Linked DNA regions of Homo sapiens: region 2 is linked to region 1. The links are contacts of gene promoters, found by promoter capture Hi-C in human tissues and cell types (Jung and others, 2019). All regions are on one chromosome and are shown on one strand. Each heading gives the region's core, a stretch centred on a gene start or on the middle of the fragment in contact. The rest is flanking DNA. Distances are from core to core; before and after follow the strand shown. Region 1 holds the start of DOC2A (double C2 domain alpha). Region 2 overlaps LOC124903678 (a long non-coding RNA gene).

Region 1 (3,933 bases), core at 196-2,695:
GGGTCGGTATGGAGACAGGTGTGTGCGAGAGGCCAGCAGGTGGGCACTGGCTCTGTGTGTCTCTCTCTCTTGCCAGCCCGCGAGTGTGAGTGCAAGAGGCTGAGTGGGCCCATGCGTGTGTGCGTCTGGGTCCCTGGCTCGGCCGCAACTGGGGCTGTGTGGGTGGTGGAGTGTCTCAGCAGAAATACTGAATATTGAGCCTTGCTGAAGCTGTAATCTCCACGCTGACTGCAGCTGTGGTGGCCGTCCCTGCCACCCCCCCACTGCCCTCCTCCCCTACCTACATGCACAGCCAGCAGGGCCCATCCCCCTCTCCCCCCACCACGGCAAGCCTGGAGACCCCCACCAGCACATGGGGCCTCCAAGCCCCCAGACTCACTGGCATCATCCGAGTCATAGCTGTCCACCTCCGCACCATCCTCAGGCGTGGTGGCCCCAAGGAGGGCTGCAGGGGGGGCCAGAGCCAGGGGGACCAGATGGGCGGGGGCCTCCCCGCCGCCCCCGCCGCCCCCTTCAGGTCCTGGTCCCCGGGGGAAGTAGTCAGAGATCTGGCGGATGGGCCGGATGGGCCCGGGGCACACGTTGATGGCCATGTGCTCCTGGATGTTGATGGTCATGCGATCGCCCCTGCGGCCCCTCATGCAGCACCCCTGGCTAGGAGAGGGCGTGTGAGCCAGTGAGCCCATCATACCTAGCCATCCTGGCTGAGGGCCAGGCGACGGCCTCCTCGGTCTGTGGGGCCCTCACTGGCCTCCCTTCCTAGGTGTCGAGGGAGAGGGTGGTGTGTGCCAGCCGGTGGCAGGTGGGAGGCCTGGGCCCTGCAGACCCCAAGCTGACTCCACAGGGGCTGGGCTGCCAACCCACTCCTTGCAGAAGTCGAGGTTGCACCACCCCGTCCTCACCCACCCACTTCTAGGTTGTCCCTGTATCATCTTGCCAGCTCCTTCCTCTCCTCCGGGGCTCCCCTCTGCTCCTGAGCCTGCCTGTCCCCCAAGGGGCCCTGCAGGGCCCCGCCTCTGTTTCTCGGAGGCTCTGTCCTCCTCTGCACCAGGCGCTGGTCTAGTCAGGGTGTCACCCACCCCTCTAGGCTCCAACTGCCCACTGTCCCCTCATTCAGCCCCAGGACCTGTCTGCCTGCCTGGTTCCCCCGCTCGCTCACCACAGCCCACGGTGGAGACCCCAGCCTCAGATGCCACCTCTGGCTCCTCAGGGGAGCCAGAAATTGCAGCCGCAGGAGAGCCGAACACCCCCGTAGCGCACACAGGCTGGCACGCTTCCCCGCACCCTCACGCCCCCGGCCTGCCCAGCCCCCTGCACCTGCCTCTGCCTCCAACAGGTGCCCAGGCACTGGGGGGACGGCGGGCGCAGGCTGGGCGGCGGCGGCCGGCGAGGAGAGCGCGGAGTCGAGCTGTGCGAGCCGAGAGGGAGGGAGCGCCGAGAAAGTGCGGGGAGGAGGGGGTGAGCGAGGTGGAGGCGAGGATGCAGCCGGCGCGGCGGCGGGGGACGGGGAGGGGCGCTGGGGCTGGGGAGGGGGCGGGATCTCGGACTCCCACCCGGGGCCCGCTCGGGAGCGCACGCGAGCGCGCACACACACGTGTGCTCGCGCGCGCACACTCACGCAGGGGCACGCGGACCGGCACACACTCGTGTGCACACATCCAACCGGGCACCCCCGCGCGCACACGCCCGTGCCCACGTGTGCACGCTCACACCCTTGCACACACCCAGGCGCGCGCTGGCACACTTACCCGGAGAACTTCGCACACACACGCACTCGCAAACACGCGGGCTCCCTGCGCCACCAGGAAGCAGCCGCCAGAATCGCCGGGTGTTCCCCAACTACTCCTGGGAGACCTGGCCCCCCGCCCCCGCCCGCGCGCGCGGCCACGGCGCCTCCCTCCCTCCCGGGTCCCCAAGGCCGGACCACCGGCCTCGTTGTCATGGCGACGCCGGCTCATCTCCCCCCACCCCCGCGCGTCTTCACGCCCCTCCCCCGCAGGGAGCTGGGGCCTCCCTCCTCCCTTCCCCACGTCCGTAGGGACCCACAGGTTGACAGGAGCAGGGGGTCGCCTGCTGTCACCGGCCGGGGATCTCGGGGTCTCCCGAGCCAGGCTGGGGAGCCTCACGATCTGAGGGAGGAGGCAGAGGTCTGATGCTGCGGCTTCCCCCACGCCCCCTCCCTTTGGCCGTTCAGGCCTCTCTCCTTGTGGCCCAACCCAACTCCCAGGGGCCCATGTCCCCTTACCAGGGATGGTATCTCCTTTGGGAACCACCCTCCCCCCTGCCATCCCCAGTTCTGCCCCGCAGGTGGGAAGGGGCGTCGGGGCTTGGCTCTGAAGGTCTCAGAGCCCTGCGGTAGTTCCCCATGGGCTGCCATTTCTCACCCAAACCTTGCCACCCCCAAGCCGCCCCCCTGCCCGGCCCTGCGCCTGCCACGGAGTGTCAGTCCACCCCTGGCCTTCGGTCTTCACTCACCTGTGCCCCAAACTTACCATCCCGAAGACACGAAGGGGCTTATCACCCTCGCTGCCCACCACTGACTCACCCAACCGTTTCCTGCAGTTCCTGGGACACACCTAGACGGCTCAGGCCTAGGGATCTTGGCTCACATGCGCTCCTCTACCTGGGAACCGCGCTTCCTTAGGAAGTCACCGTGGGTCCCCTCTTCCTAGGAGCCTTCCTGGGGCATCCCGCACTGCCCCTCAGCTCCAGCGCCGTCAGGACTCGGCTCAGCACCGCTTCGCCAGTGCCTCCCCCACCAGCAGGGAGTTCCACTGGAGCGGCTGATTCATCTGGGAGTCCCTAATGTCCCAAACTGGGCCTGGCACGAAGTCGGCATCTCTAAGTGCTGTTATTTAAAACAGCAATCTGGTTGCACGACAACTGAACATACCTAACACCACCTAATCTTACCCTTAAAAATGGTGAAGATGGTACATTTCGATATGCGTATTTCACGGCAATTTTTTTTTTTTTAAATAAGAGAAATGGGGCCGAGAGTGGTGGCGGGTGCCTGTAATCCTAGCTACTCCAGGGACTGCGGCGAGAGGATCGCTTGAGTGAAGCCAGCCTGGGCAACACAGTGAGACACAGTCTCTTAAAAAAAAAAAAAAAAAAAAGTAAGAGAAATGTAAAGTCAACAACACTGAGGGGGCGGGGCGCAGTGGCTCACGCCTGTAATCCCAGCGCTTTGGGAGGCCGAGGTGGGTGGATCACCTGAGGTCAGGAGTTTGAGACTAGCCTGGCCAACATGGTGAAACCCCATCTCTGCTAAAAATGCCGGGCGTGGTGGTATGTGTCTTGGGAGGCTGAGGCAGGAGGATCGCTTGAACCCGGGAGGCGGAGGTTGCAGTGAGCTGAGATCGTGCCACTGCACTCCAGCCTGGGCTGTAAGAGCAAAACTCAGTCTCAAAACAAACAAACAAACAAACAAACAAAAAACCCTGAGATATCACTTATTACCCATAAAATGGGCAAAGCCAAAGTGTCTGGGCTGGGGGGAAGCTGAGACGGACTGATCCCTTGAGCTCAGAAGTTCAAGACCAGCCTGGGCAACATGGTGAGGCCCTGTCTCTACAAAAAAAAAAAAAAAAAAAAAAAAAAAATCCAGGCATAGTGGTGTGTGCCTGTGGTCCCAGCTACTCAAGAGGCTGAGGTGGGAGGATCTCTCTTCTTTTTTTTTCTTTTCTTTTTTTTTTTTTTGAGATGGAGTCTCGCTCTGTCGCCCAGGCTGGAGTGCAGTGGCGTGATCTCGGCTCACTGCAAGCTCCACCTCCCAGGTTCATGCCATTCTCCTGCCTCAGCCTCCCGGGTAGCTGGGACTACAGGTGCCCGCCTCCACGCCTGACTAATTTTTTTGTATTTTTAATAGAGATGGGGTTTCACCTTCTTAGCCAAGATGGTCTCGATCTCCTGACCTCGTGATGGTGGGAG
Region 2 (4,342 bases), core at 313-2,812, 600 kb after region 1:
TTGTGAACCAATGGTTATCATCCTGGTTCTACTAATGAAGAAACGATCTCAGAGGGATTCCATGAGTTTCCAGGGCCATACTGCTAGTAAGGAGTGGGGAATAAAGATTTAAACCTGGGGCAGACAGAGCCTTTATTCATACCACTGATAGGCATCCTTCCTTCACAGTATCCTAATTTGCTTGCTAAACCAGGAATCCACCTGAGCTCTTGTTTTCTTCTCAAGTTCAATATTCTGCATAATCTCCCTACATTATTTTCACGTGACATTTGTTCAACGTACAAAGCATAGTGCTAGGCAATTGGGAGAGCGTACATAAATAAGTCATAGGCCATGCTTTGAATGGAGCTTACAGTCTAGTAAAGCATATAAATTCACAATGAATCATAACAGAATGATACAAGCATGTATGTGAAAGGCACTGAACTGAAAATTGCTGATGGAACAAGCCAGCACCCACCCCATTAGCCTCCACATTTTTTTTTTTTTTTTTTTTTTGAGACGGAGTCTCGCTCTGTCACCCAGGCTGGAGGGCAGTGGCGCCATCTCGGCTCACTGCAAGCTCCGCCTCCCGGGCTCACGCCATTCTCCTGCCTCAGCCTCCCGGGTAGCTGGGACTACAGGCGCCCGCCACCACGCCCAGCTAATTTTTTGTATTTTTAGTAGAGACGGGGTTTCACCATGTTAGCCAGGATGGTCTTGATCTCCTGACCTCGTGATCCACCCGTCTCAGCCTCCCAAAGTGCTGGGATTACAGGCGTGAGCCACTGTGCCCAGCCCTTTTTTTTTTTTTTTTTAGACGGAGTCTTGCTCTGTTGCCCAGGCTAGAGTGCAGTGGTGCAAACTCGGCTCACTGCAACCTTGGCCTCCCGGGTTCAAGTGATTCTCCTGCCTCAGCCTCCCGAGTAGCTGAGATTACAGGCACCCGCCACTTTGCTCGGCTAATTTTTGTATTTTTAGTAGAGACGGGATTTCACCATCTTGGCCAGGCTGGTCTCGAACTCCTGACCTCATGATCCAACCACCTCTGCCTCCCAAAGTGCTGGGATTACAGGCATGAGCCACCACGCCCGCCCTAGCCCCTACTTCTATGTATGTGTTATACTGCAGAGTTTCACCAGCTCAATGCCACCCCCAAGGGTCCTGCGAGCAGGAGAATACACCATTTGCCATGTCTCTTAGCTAGTGACATGCACATCTATCTCTCTAACCCTTTAATCAATATTGTAAAGCATATACTATGGGCAAAACACTAACCTCAAAGCTTTCAAGGAATAAAGACAAACAATGTGGCAGGAAAAGTCACAAAATTAGAAGGCAATGAGGCCGGGAGCAGTGGCTCACACCTGTAATCCCAGCAGTTTGGGAGGCCGAGGTGGGTGGATCACGTGAGGCCAGGAGTTCAAGACCAGCCTGGCCAACATGGCAAAACCCTGTCTCTACTAAAAATACAAAAATTAGCCGGGCTTGGTGGCACATGCCTATAGTCCCTGCTACTTGGGAGGCTGAGGCATGAGAATTGTTTTCTGTTTTGTTTTGTTTTGTTTTGTTTTGAGACGGAGTTTTGCTCTTGTTCCCCAGGCTGAGTGCAATGGAGCAATCTCGGCTCACCACAACCTCCGCCTCCCGGATTCAAACGATTCTCCTGCCTCAGCCTCCCGAGTAGCTGGGATTACAGGCATGCGCCACTACACCCAGCTAATTTTGTATTTTTAGTAGAGATGGGGTTTCTTCATGTTGGTCAGGCTGGTCTTGAACTCCTGACCTCAGCTGATCTGTCCGCCTCGACCTCCCAAAGTGCTGGGATTACAGACATGAGCCACCAGGCCCAGCCGAAGAGAATTGTTTGAAACTGGAAGGCGGAGGTTGCAGTGATCCAAGATGGTGCCACTGCACTCCAGCCTGGGTGACAGAGTAAGACTAAGTCTCAAAAAAAAAAAAAAAAAAAAAGGCTGGGCTTGGTGGCTCACGCCTGTAATCCCAGCACTTTGGGAGGCCGAGGCGGGCAGATCACTAGGTCAGGAGATCAAGACCATCCTGGCTAACACGGTGAAACCCCGTCTCTACTAAAAATATAAAAAATTAGCCAGGCATGGTGGTGGGCTTCTGTAGTCCCAGCTACTCAGGAGGCTGAGGCAGGAGAATGGCGTGAACCCGGGAGGCGGAGCTTTCGACCGAGCGAGACTCGTCTCAAAAAAAAAAAAAAAAAAGAGGAAGGAGAAGAAAGAAGAAGGAGGAGGAGGATGAGGAGGCAGCAGTGAGATATTCAGAGGAAGGAGATGTTTGAACAGAGGTGGTGGAAAAAAAACTACAGTTACAGGCTAGGTGTGGTGGCTCACACCTATAATCCCAGCACTTTGGGAGGCCGAGGTGGGGGGATTGCTTGAGCCCAGGAGTTCAAGACCAGCCTGGCCACCATGGCAAAACCCTTTCTCTACAAAAAATACAAAAATTAACTAGGCATGGTGTCGGGCACTTATAGTCCCAGCTACTTGGGAAGCTGAGGTGGGGGGATCGATTGAGACTTGGGAGGTCAAGGCTACAGTAGCCAAGATTGCACCACTGCACTCCAGCCTGGGCGAAAGAATGAGATCCTGTCTCAAAAAACAAAAACAACAACAACAACAAAAAAAAAAGGCGGGAGCTCTAGCCTCCTAATTGTGGCTGGGCGTGTGGGCATGGTGGCTCATGCCTGTAGTCCCAGCCCTTTGGGAGGCTAAGGCGAGAGGATGACTTGAGCCCAAGAGTTCAAGGCTGCAGTTAACTATGATTATTACACCACTGCGCTCCAGCGTGGTCAACAGATTGAGACTCTGTGTTTAAATGAATAGAACAAAAACAAACAAACAAACAAAAAACCTGGGCTGCATGAATCTGTTAAGAAAAGTCAGGTCAGCTGGGCGTGGTGGCTCACACCTGTAATCCATCCCAGCACTTCAGGAGGCTGAGGCGGGTGGATTGCCTGAGGTCAGGAGTTCAAGACCAGCCTGACCCACATGGTGAAACCCTGTCTCTACTAAATACAAAAAATTAGCCGAGAGTGGTGGTGCATGCCTGTAATCCCAGCTACTTAGGAGGCTGAGGCAGGAGAATCGCTTGAACCGGGGAGGCTGAGGTTGCAGTGAGCCCAGATTGCACCATTGCACTCCAGCCTGGGCAACAAGAGTGAAACTCCATCTCAAAAAAGAAAAGAAAAGTCAGGCCAGGCACGATGGTTCGTGCCTATAATCCCAGCACTTTGGGAGGCTGAGGAGGGCAAATCACCTGAGGTCAGGAGTTCAAGACCAGCCTGACCAACATGGTGAAACTCCCTCTCTACTAAATACAAAAAAATTAGGCGGGTGTGGTGGCACATGCCTGTAATCCCAGCTACTTGGGAGGCTGAGGCAGGAGAATCGCTTGGACATGGGAGGCAGAGGTTGCAGTGAGCTGAGATCACATCACTGCACTCCAGCCTAGGGGACAAAGTGAGACTCCATCTAAAAAGGGAAAAGCCAAGCTTTTATTTCTTTTTTTCTTTTTTTTAGCAGGAGAAGCAGATGCCACACTCAGAGCAGGACTGAGGCTTCTCACCTGTATGCGTGTGCCTATGAATGGCCAAGGGAGCCTCTTTGGTGCACGCACCACACACAGTCAAAGCACCAGTAGGGCTTCTCTCCTGCATGGATAAGCTGGTGCTGGAGCAAGTTTCCCAGTCAGCAAGGGGAGTGCCACACTGTAGGCAGTGGTGGCAGTGCTCACCCAAGTGCATGTGCCTGGTGGTGGCCACAAGGGAGGGGAATGCAAACTGGCACCCACATCTGTGCACACATCCGCATATGTGCGTGGACAGCGCCCTCCTCAGGTGGAAGAGGTGGCTGCAGTCGGAGCCCTTGCAGAGCTCGTCCCCTGTGTGGGGGCAGCTGGTGCTGGACCAGGTGAGCTCTCTGGGAGAATTAGACACTGCATGACCCACAAATGTGGCTGTCGGTTCGGGACTGAACAAAGGAGGACGAACGCAGAAATGGAGACAAAGAAAAGGATCTGTTTTAAAGAAAGTGTCGGGGGCTCCTTGCTTCTAGGGAATAAGGGCCCTGAGCTTCTACAGCCCTTCATATTTATTAGGTAGAATCAACAGGGACTAAGAGGTAGTAGTTGGTCAGCTGCTTGATTTAGCACAGGCTCACATAATTGCTTTCTTTATACAACAGGCTCCAGATGTTCCTATAGATAACTACAAGGAACAACTGCACCTGGTGTGTGACTGTCCTCAGCATTCCTTCTGGTGGCAGACGCAGTTGTCAGCTTGCCAACATCCTGCATTCATGAGAACAGTTTGCTGTTTGCTCATATAGCCTCCAGT

The links. Contacts are between HindIII fragments. The study calls those that stand out against the background at their distance.
Region 2: a fragment that was not itself captured here is called in contact with the fragment with the promoter of DOC2A in region 1 in 3 of the 25 tissues and cell types used here (dorsolateral prefrontal cortex, lymphoblastoid cells and spleen).

The regions. Positions count from the first base shown.
Region 1 is chr16:30,009,582-30,013,514 of GRCh38, forward strand. It overlaps DOC2A (double C2 domain alpha), which reads right to left and starts at 1,446. Exons shown (of 11, transcript NM_003586.3): 1 at 1,322-1,446; 2 at 380-654. The coding sequence starts at 641. RefSeq lists a silencer at 1,353-1,412. The HindIII fragment of the contact is 30,604 bases long and covers 1,286-3,933 here.
Region 2 is chr16:30,611,725-30,616,066 of GRCh38, forward strand. LOC124903678 (a long non-coding RNA gene) reads left to right here. Exons shown (of 2, transcript XR_007065051.1): 2 at 3,528-4,342. Among named protein-coding and RNA genes, the nearest start is that of ZNF689, 3.5 kb to the left of the region's middle. RefSeq lists a silencer at 3,895-4,135. The HindIII fragment of the contact is 7,596 bases long and covers 1-4,342 here.